Regions from separate parts of the Homo sapiens genome. Here regions 2 and 3 are each linked to region 1. The links are contacts of gene promoters, found by promoter capture Hi-C in blood cells and fetal thymus (Javierre and others, 2016). All regions are on one chromosome and are shown on one strand. Each heading gives the region's core, a stretch centred on a gene start or on the middle of the fragment in contact. The rest is flanking DNA. Distances are from core to core; before and after follow the strand shown. Region 1 holds the start of FBXO30 (F-box protein 30). Region 2 overlaps ADGB (androglobin). Region 3 overlaps ADGB (androglobin).

Region 1 (4,565 bases), core at 1,238-3,737:
CTCCACTAAATAAGTAAATGAAATCACAGACTTACATGGGAAATTGAAATAGTATTAATAAATATTTAATACTCGGACTAGAACCTATTTGAGTTGATACTCAGATAAAAATAATCCACCCAAACGGTAGAACTCAGTTTATTAAAACAGGTAACATGACATGAGGGAATGGGCTTCCAAAGAGTCTCAGCTTAGTGACCTTGAGGCAATTACTTTACTCTGGAAACAATCTAGAACTTTACAAAGATTGTTTACAATTATGTGTGTGTCCAATAGGATATAAACATGTAGTTCTCAGAAACCAGATGTACTTCGATTTGCACAACAGCCACACTTATATACACAAAAATTTTACGTGTAATTATTTTTATGAGATCATTAATTAAATGCAATCATATGAAGAACTACCTAGTAATAACATTACTCATTCTTTAAAAAAAAGATTTTCACAGACTGGGTTTTAACTGATCCGCTTGTCTGTATCTAACATCTAGCTACCTAAAATATAGAAGCAACTTGTCTAAGGCCAATCTCCTCTATTTCATCACACTGAATTTGAATTTATATTTTATACAGCCTTTGACTCAATTGTTTTATGTCAAAAAATTCTACAAATACAATGACATTCCATAATATGTACTAACTCCTTCTATCAAATAAGCAGTCTTAGGAACTGAATTAAAATATTTATCCAAAATCATACAGAATAGCATAGCGCTTATCCATTAAAATATTCACATCTTAGAAACATGTTATATCAAACAGTAAGCATTAACCAATGCCTATTTTGGTGACCTTAAAGTACCTCTCTATACACGTTAGCATTACTTATATAATATTGCTTTTTAATGATATATTAGGACACTTTTTAGAAGAAGTCTCCCAATGCTAGACCGGGAGAAATACTGGATTGAAATTAAATACCTAGTACACTTGGTATACATTAAAGTTTGCCTATATTCGAAACTTCAGTTCTCTTACAGCATTCACGAAACTCCACCATTTCCAGAATTAAAAAAAAAAAAAAAAGTTACGTCACGGCATTAAAGTGCTAGGTAAAAACAAATTGGCAATTTAAAAAGTCAGCAAAACACCATGTTATCCCCAATTAAACTTTTGTGATGAGAAACAGTGACTAAGCATGAAGAAGAGTGATTCAGCGGAAACCGCATATTGAAATCTAACCCTCTGAAAAATCCTAAAGGTTTATTTTATGCTACTCTTTTCCTTTTGCCATGTCAACAATTGGACTGCTTTGGAAAACCTTAGTATGAGCAAATGCAAAACCTGTTAATATAATTTCCATAGGTCTCTAAAGAACAAACAGTATTGAAATTTAGCAAATGGAAATTAAAATTTAAAAAGTTTGGGATTTTGTATTAAAAGATTTTAAATTAATCTACACCGATATCAGAATGCCCATAAATAACTTCATCTTGGATCAGAGTCAACGAAGTAATCATGGAATAAAAGGTCAATTCGTTCCCAAGCATCTTTTATCTGGGACTTACAACAGGGCTCAATAAGAAAAACAAGAGAAAGGGAGAGGGAAATGGAGTACTAGGACATTGGTAAACACATACTGTTTTGCCTCTTTGCCTCTATACTCCCAAATATACCCGTTAAAAACATACTGGCAGATTACTTTGAATTCAGCACGCGCTCTATAAACCCCTTCCAAGCAAAGGAGTTCCAAGGCGCAGGTCTTGGAACAACACAAATAACCTCAGGTCTGCAAAATAAGGAAGTTCCCCTTTAATAAGGACCGAGGCTAAGGCTAAGATCCTCTCACTTCCATGAATGGCAAAGTTACCAACTTTGCTCATCCCGTGCAGACAGTGGATGATGCCTCCCCAGTCTTACTTTAAGCCATTTGTCCCCAAATAACCCAAGTTTCTAAAAACCAGACGGAACGAGAAGCTTAGGGTTCCCTAAGTTTAACTCCTCCTTCGTCCCTTCCCAATACAAAGACACACAAACTGGGGGGGACACGGAGGTCGGTGCCCTCGAGGCTTAAGTCGCCATTTGCTGACCTCAACGGCTGGCCCGGCATGCGGCCCGGCGAGGACACGAGCGCGGCGGACGCCCTCTCAGGGCGCCCGGACGGCCGACCCGGGACGCGCATGGACCGGGGTCAGCCGCCTTTCCTCTGCTCCAGGCCGGGCCCGTCAACCCCACGGCCGCCAGCGCCAGCGCCTCGGTCCCGGCCGCGGCCTCAAACTGCCCGGCCGCTGCCTTCGTCCCCGCCGCAGCGCGGACGGCGCCGGCCTCCCCTGCGGGCCTCCCGTCACTCACCGGCCGGCGCGGCCGAACCGCGGCCCAGGCCCTAGCTGCCCTGGACGCCGTGCCCAGCTGCTCCGCTCTGTCCCGGCGACGCTCCGTACCCCACACAGCCGTCCGAACCGCCTCCTCCGCCCCTCTTCCCCAGCCGGGCCGCCGCCTTTTCTCTTCTCCCGGCCTGCTCCAGAGGCAGCCACCCTCCTCGCGCGCCCCGCCCCGCTGCGCCCCGCCCACCCGGCCCGGCTTCTGCCGACAGCTGGGCGGGGACGCGCACGCAGTCCCGGCGGGGACGCGCACGCCGCCCTCTGACCCCGCAGCGTCGTGGCTAGAGTAGGGTCTGGAGAGAGCTCCCACTGTGGCGAGTCCTGTCGTTGGATTCCCGCGGCGCCCCGTAAGGCTCCGCCCCGGCGGTGCTACCAAACCCTGTTCGATTTTAGAATCGTACATTCCCAGAGGGAATCCTAGACCCCTCATTTTACAGTTGAGGAAACAGGCCCAAGTAGCATGACTTGTTCGCGCCGCTAGTCGAAGGAGCAGCAGCCCCGATCCCTTGACTCTGGGGCACTGCTTTCCCTTTAGCTCATTTTTGGAGGAAATGGGTGCGCCCTTGCTCGACCTTTGGTGATTGCCGCCACAGGCCTTCCCGCCGGCTAACTCAGCGTGCCCAAGTCCCGTGACTTAGTGCCAGGACGGTGCTGTGACCCGTTATCCCCTGTCGGGTTTTACCTCCCCCCGGGAGAGCTCAGCCCTGGATCCCGGCGGGCGGCGGAGCCTCTCTGGAGCCCGGACGGGACAGCCCACCAGGGTCTGCTTCTGTGAGGGGCCGAGGCGTCATTCCGCGAAGGTAATTAGCTGGGGAGGGGACTTGAAGCCGCTTTTGCAGTGTACCTTACATATGACTGGGGAGTAAAGAAATCCCACAGGGCTGTATCAAAGAATGGATGGATGTCCACGCCCCCGCTACCACCACCAAGCCTTGGTCTACGGCCGAGGGACAGTGATTCCGAGCTCTGGGTGTTGGGAGCCGCTCACCCGCCCCCACCCCTCTGTCGGGGACTCCTGCCCACCCCGTCGCAAGAGAATTACAACAAAGGAAAGATGGTTGTAATCCTGGCAGTGGGGATGGGGGCAGAGCCAGGAAAACACTGTTGTCATCCTTTTTGTGGCTGCATCTTTACCCCTTGCTGTTGTGCTTTGGGAAAGAGAGCTCACACATAATTTGCTATCCTACAGAGAAAGCCTGTGGGTTTTTCAGATCCGTAAATTAAACAAAACAAAACAAAAACTGAGTTAGGAACTTAGATTACAGAGTAAAGGTTGATTCCTTAAATGATTAACTTTTTGAAAAATTATCTGTTCCCCTTATTTTGCCTGATTTGGCTGTAGACAGGCTCTGGTCCTCGGTTCAGACCTTGAGAGCCACTGTCCAGAGAGCTACATGGTCAGGATGGGGAAACAGGCAGGATGGCCCAGTGGGAGAGGATGTAGGTGCTGCTACACTATAGCCCCGCTCAATGCTCACTGTCCTGGATTGAGTCACAGACCTTTGTTTTGCTTTAGCTGTCCTCTTATAAAGGATCTAAAATAGATTATCTCTAGAGCCCTTTCCAGCTTTAAAATTCTGTGAATCTCTAATTATACTTATTGAGATCTGGGGCTTTACCTTTTACTAAGTCACCTAGCTGACACTAGGTCACCCTCACTCGCCTGAAGTTGAGTCATTCAGGTTGGAAACCTCATTGTCTTCTTTGTCCCTTCATCTCAATAATTTTCCATGTCCAGACAATTATTTAAAATCCTTTTTTTCTTTCACCTTCATCCCTAGTTACTGTTAAATCAAGTTTAGCCTAAAGCAGCCTCCTTACATATTTTACGTTCAGCCTAAAGGTTTCTGTGTACACCGTGAACTATAATAAGTGGAGGAGTAAACAGACCATAGCCCACACTTCTGTCAATCATTGAGTTTGGCCAATCAAATGTAGCCAGTTGTTCGAACCTTGTTCAAATAAGGCAAACCCCAACCTGTAACCAATCCAGCTGTTTCTGTACCTCAGTTCCGTTTTCTGTATGTCGCTTTCCTTCTTCTGTCCTAAATCATCTTCCACCATGTGGCTGCGCTGGAGTCTCAAAGCCTACTCTGGCTCAGGAGGCTGCCTGATGCGTGAATTGTTCGTTGCTCAAACTCCTTTAAATTTAATTTGGCTGAAGTTTTTTTTTTTTTTTTTAACATTACTGTCTTAAACAAATTTGGATGTCTGCTGTTGCCTAACCAGTCCTTTCTCCTG
Region 2 (4,565 bases), core at 753-3,252, 900 kb after region 1:
GCATACTGCATGAACCACTTCAATCTGAAGTCAAATTATTTAGTTCTGGAGAATTTTCTTATACCACTTCCTCAATAATTTTCTCTTCTCATTTTCTCTGCTTTGTGGATCTTCTATTACACTACCTTTCTCCCAATTTATTCTCTAATGTACTTGATTTTTTTCTCATTTATTTTAATATATTTATCCTTATTTTAAATATTTTAAAACTGTTTAGTTGTAGTGAAATACACACAACATTTACCATCTTAACCATTTTTAAGCGTGCAGTTCAGTAGTATTGAATACATTTTCACTATTGTATGACCAATCTCCAGAATTCTTTTCATCTTGCAAAAGTAAAACTCTATATGCATTTAAAAGCTTCTGATTCTCCCCTCCCCCCAGCCCATGAAAACCACCATTCCACTTTCTGTGCCTATAACTTTGACTATTCTGGGTACTTCACATAAGTGGAATAATAAAGTATTTCTGTTTTTGTGATTGACTTATTTCATTTGGCATAATGTTAATGTTCTCAGGTTTCACCCGTGTTTGTACGTGTGTCAAGATTTCTTCCCTGTTGAAGACTGAATGATATTCCATTGTATATGTATGTCACATTCTGTTTATCCAATCATTTGTCAATAGATATTGGGTTGCATCAACCTTTTAGATATCATGAATAACGCTGCTATGAATTTGGGTGTACACCTATCTCCTTGAGACTCTGCTTTCAATGCTTTTGGGAATATACCTAAGAGTGGAATTGCTGGATATGGTAATCATTTGAGGAACCACCACACTGTTTTCCACAGTGACCACACCATTTTACATTCTCAACAGTGCCTCTCAAATTTCTCTACATCCTTACCAACATTTATTATTTTCTATGTGTATTGTTTATGGTAGCCACCCTAATGGGCATGAAATGGTGTCTCATTGTAATTTTGGTTTGTATTCCTCTAGTGATTCATGATATTGAGAATCTTGTCATGTGCTGTTGGCCATTTGTATGTCTCCTTAGAAGGGTCTATTCAAATTATTTGCCCATTTTTTAATTGCATTGTTTGGGTTATTTTGTTGTTTTTGTTCTTTTTAGAAATTCTATATATATTCTTGTATTTTCCCTTTATCAGATATGTAATTTGCAAATATTTTCTCCCAGTTTGTAGGTTGCATTCTCACTCTGTTGATTGTATCCTTTGATGTACAGAAGTTTTCTTTTTTTTTATTTTGATGCTCAACTTACCTATTTTTTACTTTTGTTGCCTGTGCTTTTGGAGTCATATCTAAGAAATAATTGCCAAATCCAGTGTCATGAAGCTTCTCTCTATGTTTTCTTCTAGGAGTTTTGTAGTTTGTCTCTGTCTGTATCCGCTTCAGTGCCTAAAGCTTGTATTGTTTATGCCACTTATTCTATTTTTTATTTTCTAAGAGCTCTTTCTTGTTCTTTATTATTTTTGTAGAAGTTTCTTATTTGATAGATGAGTATCCTCTTATTTTTCCAATATTACCAATCTTTTAAAAATTACTCCTCATAATATTGTTTCTGTTTTCTATGAATCTTGCCACCCACAATTGTTAGCTTCTTTCTTTCATATAAGAATCTCTCCTCAATTGTTTGCCAGTACTTTGTTGTACATATATATTTAAGAAATTTAAGGCACCAAAGAGTTGCTGATTAGAAGCAGCTCAATGGCATGGCCAGAGCTTATCAACTGTTGGCTCTAACTTAGGATAATTGAGGATGAGTGAGTTTTATTTGGAGGTGGGGCTGGCTCCCAATGTGCATCTTGTTTTTTTTTTTTTCCCCTGACTCTGGTGAGTTTCTCAGTTAATGGTCCTCTAAAGTTCATCACAGGGAATGGTATATACTTGTCCATCCATGAAGGTCGAGCAGCACAGAGAAGCTGAAAGTCTCAGCACTTAGCTTGTGGACTTTCACTTAATTCCTCTGTTGTCTGTACAGTAGACTCTTCTACTTCCAGAGTATCTGTGAGTTCAGATTAAGAAACTTCTCATTTAATTTCTCCACTTGAAGCAATTTCAAGTGTGCTGTTTAGGCAAAAGAAGACTGGATGCTGAACCAGAAAGATTAGGGAGAAGAAGTGCAAATCCTTCTACAGACATTCAACCCATGTCGGTGTTTTAAGCCCATGTCTCATTCTCTCCTGCTCAGATACCTGCTAATTGCTTCTGAGGTCCTAAGGCATGGATAGGCTTTGCTTTGCACTTAGTATTTAACTATCTCTACTCTGCTATCTCTTCCATCCACTTTACATAATTTTTAAAATATTGTTGACATTACCTGTAATTAGCCTGTATGAGTTTATACCATTTTACTTTTTATATTTATTTTTGTGTTCCAGAACACAATTATTTGATATTAAATAATTAAAACAAAAGTTATACACATGAATTCAACTTAAATTCCTTGTTAAAATTTTCAGGAGCCATTTTTATAATTGAAATCAGCCTTTTTAGGTTCTGTACATTACTTTCAGTCATAATCTTATTAAGTTATCTATATTAATAGCAGATACCTTGTGCCAAGTAATATGTCTACTTAGGGATATTACTGTTTTAATTTAACTCTTGTTACAAGATTCAATCATTTAGTAAATTAACATATTCTGTGTCTTAATGTGACAAGCTTAAATACTCAGTCAATTGTTTAATTCCATTCATGTCCTTTGACATTTAAAGTTAAAAACAAATTTTTTTGGTAGGTTTTAGTAAATTTTCCCAAAAATCTATTTCTTCAAAGTTTAAAAAAACTATATTAGCTCTTTTAGTAACTTTGGTGCTTTGGATAGCTGTAATGTTTTGTTGGATTCAAAGTGTGTTTCTTTTAATTCATAGGGAAATACTGCTTCACAAGTTATACTTGGAAAAGGTAAATTAATAATTTTCCTGTGACTTTTTTCAATGTACATCAAGATACAGAGGGGCATCTCTGCTTCTTGACAGCTTCCCTTCTGGCTCTCAGCAGCCTTTCTTCAGTGTCTCCTTTGATTTGCTGAGTCTAGTCTGCTCTGGGCTTTAAAAAAAGAGATAATTTCAATTGTTAAATTGAAGCTAAAAATAAAAATGAAAGAGAATCTGATTACCCACAAATAAAGTTCATGTGTTTTAATGCTGCACCCTGTGATCGAAACACTAAAACCACTGCAAATTCCTTAGTTCCTAAATAAAAGACTTGGCCAAGAATTGAATTCAAAATTATATATATATTTTTGGATCCAGAAGTCTTTAAGAATGCTATGCCGGCCAGGTGCAGTGGCTCACGCATGTAATCTCAGCACTTTGGGAGGCTGAGGCGGGCAGATCACGAAGTCAGTAGATCGAGACCATCCTGGCCAACATGGTGAAACCCTGTCTCTACTAAAAATATAAAAATTAGCAGGGCATGGTGGTGTGTGCCTGTAATCCCAGCTACTTGGGAGGCTGAGGCAGGAGAATCTCTTGAACCAGGGAGTCAGAGGTTGCAGTGAGCCAAGATCGTGCCACTGCACTCCAGCCTGGACTCCGTCTCAAAAAAAAAAAAAAAAAAATGGTATGCCACATTACTTGGTAAATATAAAATAAGGCTCTAGAACCACTGACTGTGGGGAGTGATTAAATGTGTTACTGAAACACATTTGTTGCACCAGATCTTTCAAGTTTTCATTTCCCTTTCTGTTGTCTGAGCCACCCCCTCCTATAAGAATATGTCCATCTAGAGCAGATTTTCAGTAAAGAATCTAGCTAATTTGTGTTGTAACTTCACAATCTCTAAAGAATCTGTGAGGGCCGGGCGCGGTGGCTCACGCCTGTAATCCCAGCACTTTGGGAGGCCGAGGCGGGTGGATCATGAGGTCAGGAGATCGAGACCATCCTGGCTAACAAGGTGAAACCCCGTCTCTACTAAAAATACAAAAAAAATTAGCCGGGCGCGGTGGCGGGCGCCTGTAGTCCCAGCTACTCGGGAGGCTGAGGCAGGAGAATGGCGTGAACCCGGGAAGCGGAGCTTGCAGTGAGCCGAGATTGCGCCACTGCAGTCCGCAGTCCCACCTGGGCGACAGAGCGAGACTCCGTCTCAAAAAAAAAAAAAAAAAAAAAAAAAAGAATCTGTGAACAAATTCGTCAAAGTAATTCTGAAATTTTTGAACACCCTGATATGCATAGAAATTGTGATTAAATTCTCCTTTGTGTATGAAATGTGTCCCTGTGTGGACCTCCATAAATGTATGAAGCCTGGATTATCTCATAAATATTTTCCCAAAAATAGACTTTGATATTTAAGTTTCCCTTTATCATTTTACATATTTCAATAACTTGTTATTTAACAATATAAGATGTGTTTGACATGTGTGTCTTCTAGGCACAGATGAACAAACAGACTTTGGATTGGGTGATGCTCATCAGAGTGATGGATTAAACTTGGAAAGAGAGATAGTCAGCCAGACCACAGCAACACAGGAAAAGTCACAGGAAGAACTTCCAACAACAAATAATAGTGTTTCTAAAGAAATATGGTTAGATTTTGAAGATTTCTGTGTATGCTTTCAGTAAGTATACCAATGGGATCAATCTGACTATGT
Region 3 (4,565 bases), core at 1,425-3,924, 880 kb after region 1:
TTTTAAATGTACATCATACTTTCTAACTGCTACTTTTTAGAGTTAATAGTAAAGAAGCCTGAACGGTTCCTTGAGATTTCAAGTCCATTTTTGAATTATAGAATGACTCCATTTACAATTCCAACAGAAATGTAAGTATTAACATTCTTCCTCACAAATGTGTCTTGTTAGTAAATACTTTGTGATGTGTCTGGCTAAAGATAACACCAAATGGGAGCATTTTGAAGAATAGTAATTTTAAAATAAGCCCAAATACATGTAAAAACTTTAAAAGGACATTTTCTTGACCTTTTATAGCTTGTAGTTACATTAATCCACTTAATTAACAAATAGTTTTTACTAATTTCTTGTGTGTGTTATGAGCTGAATGTTTGTATGCCCACCAAATTCATAGGTTAAAGTTCTGACCTGCCAGTGTGGCTGCATTTGGAGGTAAAGCCTCTAAGCAAGCAATTAAGGTGAAATGAGTGATAAGGCAGGGGTACTGATCTGAGAGGATTAGTGACCTTCTGAGGAGAGACACCAGAGAGTTCTCTCTCTCTCTGTCTCTTTCTGTCTGTCCAGGCACACACACAGTGGAAAGGCTACGTGAGCACACAGAGAAGGCAGCTGTTGGCAGGCAGGAAGGAGAGTCTTCATAAGAAACAAACCCTGCTGGCACCCATCCTGACTGGTCTCAGACTTCCAGTCTCCAGAAATGTGAGAAAATAGATTTCTCCTATGGTAGCCACCTAACCTGTGGTATTTTGTTACGGCAGCCCGAGCAAACAAATACGGACTTTGGTACAGAGAAGTAGGGTGCAGCTGTAACAAATATCTGAAAGTGTGGAAGTGGTTTCCACATCTTCCTTGTTCTCTTTCAAATAGGCTTTCTCATTTTTCCCAATATGGATAGGCTGAGAATTGTCCAAATCTATTTCTTTTTTCTAGCATTTTACTATAAGGAGTCAAGAGAAGCCACGCCGCACTTTCAACACTTTGCTTAGAAATTTCCTCAATCCAATATTTAATTTCACTGCTCACAAGTTCTACCTTCCGCAAAACACTGGAACACAGAAAATCAGCCAAAGTCTTTGCCTAACAAGGGTGGCTTTTCCTCCATGGCCCAATAACATGTTCCTAATTTCCATTTGAGACCTCATCAAAATGGCCTTTACTATCCATATTTCTACCAGAATTTAGTTCACAGACACGTATATATTTTCTAAGAAGATTGAGGCTTTCTCTATAGCTCTCTTCTTTCCTTTTTGGGCCCTTTCCAGAATCATCTTTAAAGGTCCGTTCATGGCAATGTAGGCTTTCTTTAGCATGTACCTCCAAACTCTTCCAGCCTTTATTACCCAGTTCCAAAGCTGCTTCCACATTTTAGGTAGTTACCATAGCAGCAATCCCACTTGCTAGCATTCATGTTCTGTCTTAGCCTGTTTGGGCTGCTATAACAAAATACCATAGACTTGTGGCTTGTAAATAACAAAAAATTTATCTCTCATACTTCTAGAGGCTGGGAAGTCCAAGAACTGCACGCCAGCAGAGTCAATTTCTGGCAAGGGTCTGCTTCCTCATGCATGGCATCTTACCACTGTGTACTCACCTAGTGGAAGGGGTGAATGAGCTCTCTGGGGTACCTTTTACAAGGACACTAATGCCATGCATGCAGGTTGAGTCACCTCCCAAAGGCCTCACCTCTTAATACCATTATTTCAGGGTTTAGGATCTCAACATATAAATTTGATGGCAGAAGTATATACACACCTTCAGACCATAGCACCTTCCTTCCCCTTCATCTAGCAAGTAGTGTGTTCTGTTGATGTGTTTTGTAAATTCATCCAGTTCTTCCCCTAAAATGAATAATATATAAAACTCCTAAAATAATACATTGCAGCTTTTTTAGCTCCCTATCTACATGAAAAATCTTCAAATATTTGACAACAATTATATATGCACCACTCCATTCTCTTATTATTAGGTTTCTAGATGTGTAAAAAAATACTGTGTAAGTTATTTTCCAGTCCCACTGGACATTTCAGTTACAAAAGCCAGTGGAATTTCTATTCTTATTAAAGCTACTATGAATTAGCCTTCTGTCACTTGGACACAAGCAGTCCTAACTGATACTGCAATATAATAGAAATGCAATGCAATGTTATCAACAGTGTCATTAATTTAGTCAAAATTTGGGCTAAATTAACCACTTGTAATATACACATTATTAATATATTAAATAATGTCTTTCCTTCTTAAGTAGAGCATACTCAAAGCCTTCCTTGCTTCCTGGATGAATCATACTTAGCATTATTACTATACTGTCTTCTAACAGAGGGACCTCAAGGACTTTGAGGAACAATGACCCTAACATTCAATGACCTGAGACTACTGGCTTTTCCGGGGCTTTGTTTCAGTGATTGGCTTAGTTGTAGTTTTAATTTTGCTTTCATAGTACTAATGATGTCTTTATCAGTTCTTAATATTGTCTGCTTCCAATAGCCTTCCCTTCTCCAAATTTGTTTGTAATTTTCTGGGTGTAATGAGTAACATCACCAAATTTTTAGAATTAGTTAACGTTGCTTTGTATATACTTATAATAAAGACATTAACAGTTAGCATATGGGCTTTGTATCTACACTGTAACAATTGGATATTTAACATAGTAACTTGGAAATCATAGGCATTAAGTAAATCATAGGTATTAAGTAAATATTAATTGAATTGATTAAAATATTAAAATATTTTGAAGCACCTAAGTTATTCAGTATTTAAAATTATGTTCTTTCCTGTATGGTAGGCACTAGGCACATGGGGCTATGTAAAATTTTTTAAGTTAATTAATATTATATAAAATTAAAAATTAATTTCCTTAGTTGCATTAGCAACATTTTAAGTTCTCAGTAGTCAAATGTTCTAAGTGAACATTTTCATCATTGCATAAGTTTCTTCTAAATATTAAAAGGAATGAACAAGTGACCTGTCCATAATTGTAGCATTTTACTATAACAGTATTATATTATTTTTAGTTTTTATTATTTTAACCCATATTACTATTCATAGATTAAAATGAAAAGCTCATTCATTCATATAATGCAACATAACTAAGTGGCATTTTCTTTGCCCTATTGAGAAGACCAGTTGAATGTAATTGTCCTAATAGTTAAAGCATTTCAACTTCAACCTTTTAAATCAATTTTATTTAATAAATAAAAATGTATGCTTTCATGACAAATATACTAAAATTTGTGTCATTGCAGTGATTATACAAAAGCAATATTTCTTAAGTTCCCTTTTATAGTAAGAAATACTTTTTTTTTTTTTTCCCGAGATGGAGTCTGCTCTGCTGCCCAGGCTAGAGTGCAGTGGAGCAATCTTGGCTCACTGCAACCTCTGCCTTCCAGGTTCAAGTGATTCTCCTGCATCAGCCTCCCAAGTAGCTGGGATTGCAGGTGTGTGCCACCACACCCGGCTAATTTTTGTATTTTTTGTAGAGATGGGGTTTCACCATGTTGGCCAGGCTGGTCTCTATCTCCTGACCTCAGGTGATCCACCCACCTTGGCCTCCCAAAGTGCTGGGATTACAGGTGTGAGCCACAGTGCCCAGCCAGAAATACTTATTTTAAGATAAATTTTGAATTGGTTGAAATAAGGCCTACTTCAAATGTTCTTTAGCATCATAAAACTTAAAAAAATAAATTAAATGAGCCCCCTTATTCCAAGGATATTTAAATAAAGTATTGAGGGGACACAGAGGATTAACTAGAAAGGGCACTGTTTTTGTGAGGAAAAATGTATTAATTAATCAATGAAAACTCTGACTGTAAAAATAAAGTGATATGAAAATATTATATGTAAAACAAAGATACTATTGAAAAATGCCCTCACTTTTCTCTTTCACATTGTTTGTTTTACTGCTTTGGTGAGATGTCAAAGCTGCTCAAATTATGTTCCTAAAAGGAGTAGACAATGTAAGAGTGCAAGCTGGTGAGAGATTAAAGGTGGTGATAAGAAACTGGGATATTGCCTGGAGACAGAAGAGAGCCAGAGAGGCTTGGTGTATTTCATATTTAGAAGTACTCTAATTTTTTTTCTTGTTTCTAGTAATTATGCTGATGGGAAAATCTGTCTGTCTTTACAGATTTGGCTACTGTTTTAGAACAACAAAAAAGCATCTTACCTACTTTAATCATTAGCACTGATGAATATTTTCGGTTATTACCAGCTAATTAAATTACAAGATTAAATGATTGTCATAGAAATGTGGAAAACTGGGTGTGTCACTCATAGGGAAAAAAAAGACTAACTAAATACAACAGCAAAGACAATGAAGAACAATGAAGAGAAAGGGGGAAGGAGGAGGAAGAGGAACCCACACTCACTAATATTTGAACATCACAATAGGGATAGAAAGAAAGACTGTAAAGCTGGGTCTGAAGTTTTTATTGAATCAGAAGTGACCATGAACTTCACAAATAGCAATAACTGGTGTATTGGGTGATATGAGTGCAGGGTATGATGGTTGCCGTTAAAATTGTGGTAATTTTTAATGCAGCAATAGGTGGCTAATACATGGTTATACA

What was found. Contacts are between HindIII fragments. The CHiCAGO score rates a contact against its expected background, and 5 or more counts as called.
Region 2: a contact is called between a fragment that was not itself captured here and the fragment with the promoter of FBXO30 in region 1, in 1 of 17 cell types (fetal thymus). The highest score is 5.2, in fetal thymus.
Region 3: a fragment that was not itself captured here is called in contact with the fragment with the promoter of FBXO30 in region 1 in 1 of 17 cell types (neutrophils); the score reaches 6.9 in neutrophils.

Annotation. Positions count from the first base shown.
Region 1 is chr6:145,812,308-145,816,872 of GRCh38, forward strand. It overlaps FBXO30 (F-box protein 30), which reads right to left and starts at 2,488. Exons shown (of 3, transcript NM_032145.5): 1 at 2,296-2,488. All of the region lies in intron 1 of EPM2A-DT (EPM2A divergent transcript), which reads left to right. RefSeq lists enhancers at 1,897-2,451, 3,509-3,578 and a silencer at 2,129-2,668. The HindIII fragment of the contact is 9,786 bases long and covers 1,919-4,565 here.
Region 2 is chr6:146,712,538-146,717,102 of GRCh38, forward strand. It overlaps ADGB (androglobin), which reads left to right. Exons shown (of 36, transcript NM_024694.4): 14 at 2,845-2,878; 15 at 4,346-4,532. Among named protein-coding and RNA genes, the nearest start is that of ADGB, 120 kb to the left of the region's middle. The HindIII fragment of the contact is 1,261 bases long and covers 1,373-2,633 here.
Region 3 is chr6:146,692,785-146,697,349 of GRCh38, forward strand. It overlaps ADGB (androglobin), which reads left to right. Exons shown (of 36, transcript NM_024694.4): 12 at 41-131. Among named protein-coding and RNA genes, the nearest start is that of ADGB, 96 kb to the left of the region's middle. The HindIII fragment of the contact is 5,580 bases long and covers 1-4,565 here.